Regions from separate parts of the Homo sapiens genome. Here region 1 is linked to region 2. Evidence: promoter capture Hi-C in human tissues and cell types (Jung and others, 2019). All regions are on one chromosome and are shown on one strand. The core of a region is centred on a gene start or on the middle of the fragment in contact, and the rest is flanking DNA. Distances in the headings are between cores, read along the strand shown. Region 1 overlaps LOC105376313 (a long non-coding RNA gene). Region 2 holds the start of FCN2 (ficolin 2).

The links. The method cuts DNA at HindIII sites, captures the fragments that hold promoters and counts their contacts. A contact is called where the count stands out against the background at its distance.
Region 1: a contact is called between a fragment that was not itself captured here and the fragment with the promoter of FCN2 in region 2, in 2 of the 25 tissues and cell types used here (adrenal gland and lymphoblastoid cells).

Annotation. Positions count from the first base shown.
Region 1 is chr9:134,944,844-134,948,513 of GRCh38, forward strand. LOC105376313 (a long non-coding RNA gene) reads left to right here. Exons shown (of 3, transcript XR_930421.3): 1 at 1-539; 2 at 625-729; 3 at 2,473-3,670. It overlaps LOC124902302 (a long non-coding RNA gene), which reads right to left and starts at 855. Exons shown (of 2, transcript XR_007061846.1): 1 at 564-855. The HindIII fragment of the contact is 7,666 bases long and covers 1-3,670 here.
Region 2 is chr9:134,879,524-134,883,417 of GRCh38, forward strand. FCN2 (ficolin 2) reads left to right here and starts at 1,287. Exons shown (of 8, transcript NM_004108.3): 1 at 1,287-1,398; 2 at 3,003-3,116; 3 at 3,779-3,832. The coding sequence starts at 1,299. The HindIII fragment of the contact is 19,799 bases long and covers 1-3,894 here.

The sequences.
Region 1 (3,670 bases), core at 1,091-3,590, 66 kb after region 2:
GGGGTTTGCTGGATCACAGGTCCCCAGTGCCCCGGACATAGTGTGTGAGGAATGCGGGTATGAGAGATACTAACATAGGCAAAGTCGGCTCATCTCATCCAACCTCACCACCCTGTGCATTGCAACCCCACAGTGCAATGTAAAGATGGGGAAACAGGCCCAGAGACTCAAGAGAAATGAAACGAGTGGAGATTGAGACTGAACTGGACCGGGATCCGGGCCCCACAGCTGGGCTTGTCCCGAGGCTGTGTGCTGCCCCCGGAGCTCCTTGGATGGAGAAGCGCTCCCTGCCCCTCCCTGCTCCATGCCTGGCTTAGACACACGGCGGCCCTGCTCATGCCTGAAATTCCACCCTTAGCCACCCTCCCCTGTTTGGCATTGCCCTCGCACCCCCTCTCGAGGGACACAGAAACCCCGCGTGTGGGTGTCCTCACTGCAGGTCTCCCTACCTGGCAGGCGGGGAATGTTTTGGGGCAGGTGGTGGGCAATGGAGGAGAAACAGTAAGCAGGGATTTCAGGAAGAAGAAAACGCCAGCAAGGTAAGCAGGTCAACAAAACCTCACCTGTGTCAGCTTGCACACCTTCTGTCACCAGAAAGCCTGACCTTAACCTTGCACTTGTCAGATCTGATCCTGGTCCTCAAAGAGCATGGAGACCCTCTTTATACAAATGGGAATACTGAGGTATGCAGTTCGAGAGGATTGACCGAGGCCATTTGGCTGGTTGAAGGTGGGTAAAGTCCTGGGTTCCTAATTTCTGCCAGGAGACCCTTGCTCCATTCTCTTCCCAGGGCAGAACCACACTTGGTCCTGGGGAAAGCCACCTGGAGAGCGGAGGGCAGAGGGTGGAGGGCAGAGGGCGGAGGGCAGAGGGCAGAGGGCAAAGGGCAGAGGGCAGAGGGTGGCGCGGAGGGTGGGGAAGCACCCCTGTCACCTCTGCCCATGCAGCCTACCCCGTCCCCAATTCACGAGACAGTTAACTTGGTTCTTGCCCTGAGCCAGGCCCTGGCCCGGAGCCTGGGGCCACAGGTGCCCTCAAATGCACATGGGACTCAGGCTCATCAGCAGTGGCCTCATGGCAGGAGGGTGGTCACTGTGGGCTGGGGGAGGCTGTGAGGCTCCTCTGGCAGCTCCACCTGCGAAAGCCAAGTCGAAGAGTGAGTTGAGTGTGTGCTGGCCCATCTGCCCCTTTCCCTCTCCGCTCAGGGCCCAGAGCCTCCCAAACAGGCAGCTGTGACTCTGATGAAGCCACCTGGTGCTGGGGGTGTGGGGTGGGGTTGGGGACAGCAGGGGAAGCCCACTACTTGGTAGTCCCAAATGTCACAGTCTGTGACCCATGAAGGATGGCTGGGCCACTCCTTGGGACAGGGTTACACCAGACACACACACAGATGTATTCACACCAGACACACACACACAGACACATTCACACCAGACACACAGACACATTAACACCAAAAACACACAGGTACATTCACACCAGACACACACACACAGACACATTCACACCAGACACACACAAAGACCATTCACAGCAGACACACACACAAAGACACATTCAGACCAGACACACACACAGACACATTCACACCAAAAACACACAGGCACATTCACACCACACACACACACAAAGACACATTTACACCAGATACACACAGACCATTCACTTCAGACAGACACACACACATTCACACCAGCCACACACAGACACATTCAAACCAGACACAGATACATTCACATCAGGCACACACACACAAAGACACATTCACACCAGACACAGACACAAACCATTCACACCAGACACATACACATTCACACCAGACACACACAAAGACCATTCACACCAGACACACACACATTCACACCAGACACACACAGACCATTCACACCAGACATACAGACTATTCACACCAGACACACACACATTCACACCAGACACACAGACACATTCACACCAGACACACACAAAGAGACATTTACACCAGATACACACACACAGACCATTCACTTTAGACAGAGACCATTCACACCAGACACACACACATTCACACCAGACACACACAGACCATTCACACCAGACACACACACATTCACACCAGTAACACACACAGACACATTCACACCAGACACACACAAAGATACATTTACACCAGATACACACACAGACCATTCACTTCAGACAGACACAGATACATTCACCCCAGACACACACACAAAGACACATTCACACAGACACAGGCAAAGACACATTCACACCAGACACACACACAGACACAGGCACACCCCTGCACACAGCCACTGTGCTCATGCATAGCCGGGTACACCTGCTTGCACACTCACACTCGCTCACCCCCACACCCCCCCCCCCGCTTCCTCACCCACTTTCTCTCCTGGTCCTGCAGTGCTTGTTCCCACTAGGTCCCTGGGGGGCCAGGGAGAGCCAGCCAGGCCCGCCACCATTCTCTCCCCGCAGAGCGATGCTGCGTGTCCAGAGCAGCGGGTGTGGGAGGCAGAGCCTGGAGCTCCCAGAGCCGGCGGCCCACGGCCTCGCCTCCAGCCAGGAGGGTGCGGAATTCTCCCCCACCCAGCAGAGGCTCTGGCCATCTGTCTCCAAGGATGCGGGGGAGCGGACCGGCTGTGCCGCTCTAGGGCTGCTCCGCCTGACAGACAGCAGTGTCGACCACCCATGTTTGCTGCACAGACTCTAGCTTCCACACCCCTCCCCACCCCAGCAGCCTGGGGAAGGAAGGCTGGAGGTCCCTGCATGACGGGTGAGGAGAGAGGACAGGAGCCCGGTGCTCTGAACACCGCCCCAGCCCAGCTGCACGTCAGGACCCCGCACTGGCCTCTTACATTGAGAAGCCAAGACCCACCCAAAACCCAGCTATCAAAGTCTCTGGGGACAGCACCAGCAGGGCAGAGGGCGTTGGTTCCCTTAGAATGTGCTAGAAGGCTCATCCCTGCAGGAGGTGCCCCTGCAGGCATCCTTGCCCCCACACTGCCTGGTGCTGCCCACCTGCTCACTTGCAGGTGACCCTAGTTTCTCAGTGGCTCGGCAGCCTCGCGGGCTGTTGTAACACTGACACCACGTCTGTGAGATCATTGGCTTGGAAGATTCAGCTCAGAATTGGATAGAAGGGCCCTGCCCTGCCAGGCACAGCTGCCGGCCCTTGTCACCTGCAGCTGCATGAGAAACTAAGGCTCAAACCAAATCCTTCTGGACAGAAAAGCAGGTCCCCCTCCACTACCCCTTCGTCTGGGCTCTCGGTCAGCGGGGTCAGGGTGGCCGGGACAGTCACTCTCATTTCCAGAGGAGGCGAGAGGCAGATGAAGGCCATGGACAGCAAGCCATGGGGCCACAGCACAGCCTCAGGTCGTTGCTGACACACCTGCGCCTCCCACAGCCCTCCCCAGGAAAGCCGCGGCAGAGCTCACCCCACTCCCAGGGTGCTCACCTGGGACCTCCTCACCTCTGCACCTGCCCTGGGTATCCTCAGCCGTGACCCTGGCCTGGCAGTGCCGGCGGACAGGTTGCAACCAGCCCAGCTCCCCAGGGGTGAGAGGGGCCCATCACCGGCCACCCACAGGCATCCCTGGGTCTGCTTTTTGGAGCAGTGTCCGGGGTTCCCTTCATATCCTTTATATCTATGTGAACCTGACCGGCACACTCA
Region 2 (3,894 bases), core at 37-2,536:
GATGCCCCCAAGCCATCTTTCTAGGTTCCATATCTGCATCTCCATGGAGCCTGTGTCTTCCCCAGGTTCATCCCTGGACCTCATCTGCATCTGGCATAGCCTTAATTAAGTCTTGAGAGGTCTGCCCTAAACACCACGGAACCCGAGGGGGGTCTTAACTAGTCATAGTCTCAGGACCACACATCTCCATGGGCATTGAAGGAAAATCCGATGGGATTTTGTTTCTCGCGTGGCTTTGCTGGGCTGGGGTCACAGTTTAAAATCCTTCTACTGATCTTGCCAAGGAAGAAGGCACCTCGGCATCCCGATGGCAGCAGGTGGCAGGGTGCGGTGGTGGTAGTGGGAGGTGCAGTGCTGGTTCCGTCTCTGGGGGCTTTAGGTATACGGCCTCTGGGGCCCCACCTGCTACTGTCTCTGTCTCTAACCTGGCTCAGTCCAAGGCGAGAGTGCACCTTCAGGCCAGCTCTTCTCCAAAAGGCGAACACAACCACTGAAGTAAGTCCACAGCCATCCTACAGGTGGGATGTCTGGCCTCAGGGCTCAGGGGGTTCCCTGGGCCCTAGGAGTGAAATTCACCTACTCTCATCCTCCCTACAGGCTAAGCCCCTGCATTCACACTCAAGGTCTCCCCTTCAGATGTGTACCTGGGTCATAGTCCCCCAGGCTCCCCACTCTTCTCTCCTTTCCCTCCTGTTCATGTGCCCCTGTGCTCTACATACTGCCCCAGGAAACAGTGGACACACACGCATTTTCCTCTCCTTTTCACCCTGGCAGCCTGCCTGGACCTCATAGTGGCAGTTTCCAAGCCTCCTGAGGAGAGTCCCAAGTCTGCTCATGATGTGGTGAGGGTTACTGTGTAAGGCCCACACCAGTGGCCCATGACCAGCCCTGGCCATGAGGACTCTAGGTATTCGGATAAGGGAGAGAGACCTCTTTGAAGCAGAACATCTTTAGCAAACCCTTCCTTGTTCCCCGTTCTCAGCTCATGGTGACATCTGCTCACCGCTGAACAAAGGTGGGAGGATGGGCCTGGGCTCTTTGCCCAAGGCCACAAGCAAGTCAGCCTGTTCCCTGGAAGGAGACCGTCCCCCTGCAGGGATGACAGTCGCCATGGGATCCCCAAGGGGCGGGGGGTAGGGAGCAGCCCTGGAGATGATCTCGCACCTCCTGCTGGCGTCACCAAGCCCGCGGAGAGGAAGCGGCTGTCACTCGGAAGATGAGAAATTGGAGTCTGAGGGAGGCTGGCTTCTCTAGCCCTATAAGAGGGCAGGCACCTTTTGAAGCAAAGACCAGAAGAGATGGAGCTGGACAGAGCTGTGGGGGTCCTGGGCGCTGCCACCCTGCTGCTCTCTTTCCTGGGCATGGCCTGGGCTCTCCAGGCGGCAGACACCTGTCCAGGTAAGGGCACTCCAGGGCCTCCTCCTGGAAACTTCTCGTCCCTGAAAGCTGGCAGCTTCGTGATTGGTGGCTTCCTGGCTTCCAGGCCTTGCACCAGGCCGTGTGGAGCATCGTCTAACGAGACAGCAGCTCTGCATGCCTCATCTTATGTGAACAAACGCAGAGGCCCCGAATGGATGTGGCATCTCAGAGACGGAGCTTCCTCTGCTTGCCCTCCCATAATGGAAACCGAGGCAGGTTTCCAGTCTCCCTGGGCCACATGTCCCCCTCTAAGCGTAAAAAGCGTAGTCATGGTGTTGTGTGGGGAGGTGAGGCTTGTGGTGCCAGCTGGGTAGACACCAGTCAGATATTCTGCCATGGTCGCCATCACAGAGAGACAGGGTGTGAGGTGGGGATAAGCACCCGGAAAGACAGGGTGTCAGGCGGGGATGAGCACTGCAGGACCTTTCCATCCAGGACCTGCTGGGCTCTGGAGATGGCAGTTCCCATGGTGTCCCTGATGCGGCACAATAAGGGTGGCATTGTCCCCGTGAGTTCTGGACCTCCTTCGGGGCTCCCGAGGGGACACTCGGGTGCCAAACCATGGGCTCCGGCGCATGCGAGGGCAGGTTGAAAATGCAGGTTCTGGAGTCAGGTCCTGACTCCGTCTACCCGGGGCTGGGATGCAGGGTCAGGAATTTGTGATGCTCCTGATGCTTGCAGAGATTCGTGTCAGGATTTCTGGAATGCATGTGAGACACAGAGCTCTGCGGTGTGCTGTGACTAGCATCGCATTCAAGGAGCAATCCGTGGCGTGAAGTGTGACACAGGCCAGGAACAGCGGGGATTCGCTTGGAAACTCCTAGTGGCTCGTTGTGGAGTGGTGGGGTTAGGGTGGCATTATTTTCTTCCTTAAATACTTCTAGAGTTTCTAAATGATCAAATAATAGCACGTGTTATTTTTGTAACACACTCACTTGAATTTGAGTTATCTAATTAAAAACAACAAGCTGCATTCCAGCTCTAGTTTCGCACCAACTTGTTCAGTGTCCTTGAAGGACGCCTCCCTCTGTGGAGGAACAAGGTGGACCCACAGGAGCCCATCCACTCTCAGATCTGCTCCAAGATCAGGCGTGGGAGTTGCAATGGTAGCCTCTCTCCCTGTGTCCTTCTCACCCGATATTGATTACAATGATATGATAGATGAGAACAGACGAGATTAGGATGCTGTCTTAAATGGTAGGAGCTGAAATGAACCTGCACCCCTCGGTAGGTAAGGGAACAGAGGCTCAGAGGGGTTAAGGGACTTGTTTCAGGACACACAGTACTGAGGAAGTAAGGTTTGCCTTCAGGCAGGGTAGCCTCCAAGGCCAGGGTTCTGCCCCAAATCACCTTTCTGCCTGACCAGTGCCCAAGAGGTGAGGACAGACCAAGTGCCCACCAGGGCAGGAAAACCTCCCTTCCAGGTGACCCTCCAGCTGAGGGAGGTGGCTGTGGCTATAGCCATCTGCCCAGTCCTGATGTCACCAAGATGGCAGATGCCTTTCAGTTGAGTGGTATATCTATGGCTCAGTGGAGTCTTCAGGCCCAGGTGACACTGAGTGGCCACCTGTGTTTTTCTGCAGAGGTGAAGATGGTGGGCCTGGAGGGCTCTGACAAGCTCACCATTCTCCGAGGCTGTCCGGGGCTGCCTGGGGCCCCTGGGCCCAAGGGAGAGGCAGGCACCAATGGAAAGAGAGGTAGGTGCAGGCATGGCTGGGGGCACTGGCTCTTGCTCTTTTTGAAACCAGATGCTGAGTTGGGCAACACCCCCACCATGGTTCCTAGATCGAGAGCTGGGTCAGGCCCCTGCAAGAGCCAGGAAAAGAACTGACTCCCAGGGCCCAACAGGGTTCTGACATGGAGGGAGCGTCTTTCTTAGCTATTTCATGAGCTCACATTTGGACATGCTTCTGTAGCTCTGTCTCCTAGTCCTTGATCCAATACCAGCTTTGCTCGGCCGCTGGCACGACTTCAAGCTCTGTGTCCCTCCACCTTCCCACCTCAACACGGAGGCCATGACACTCTTCTCCACCTGTCTCAGATGAGGAAACTGAGGCTCAGAGAGTCCAGGGATTTCGCTCTGTTCTCACACTTGGAAGGAAAAGAGCCGAGATTCTACCCATGGTCTCTGGATTTCCAGCTCCCGGCCCCTGAGTGAACAGGAGAGCCCCGTGAGGCCTGGGTCCTGGATCTAGAACCTTCTGGTGCAGGATGGGCAAGCCTGGGCGGGGCCACAGTCACGTCGTAGCACGAGCAGGGTCATGGTCATGATTGGAAATGACAGCCGCCAGCTCCAGGGTGGGCCCTTTGATCCTGGGCTGGGCAGTTTTCCTCAAGTCAGTGTCTTTGGAAATTGCAGGAGAACGTGGCCCCCCTGGACCTCCTGGGAAGGCAGGACCACCTGGGCCCAACGGTAAGGAGGGGACAAGAGTGAGAAGCGGCTTCAAGGCCCTTCCAGACCTGGCTGCAGAGGAA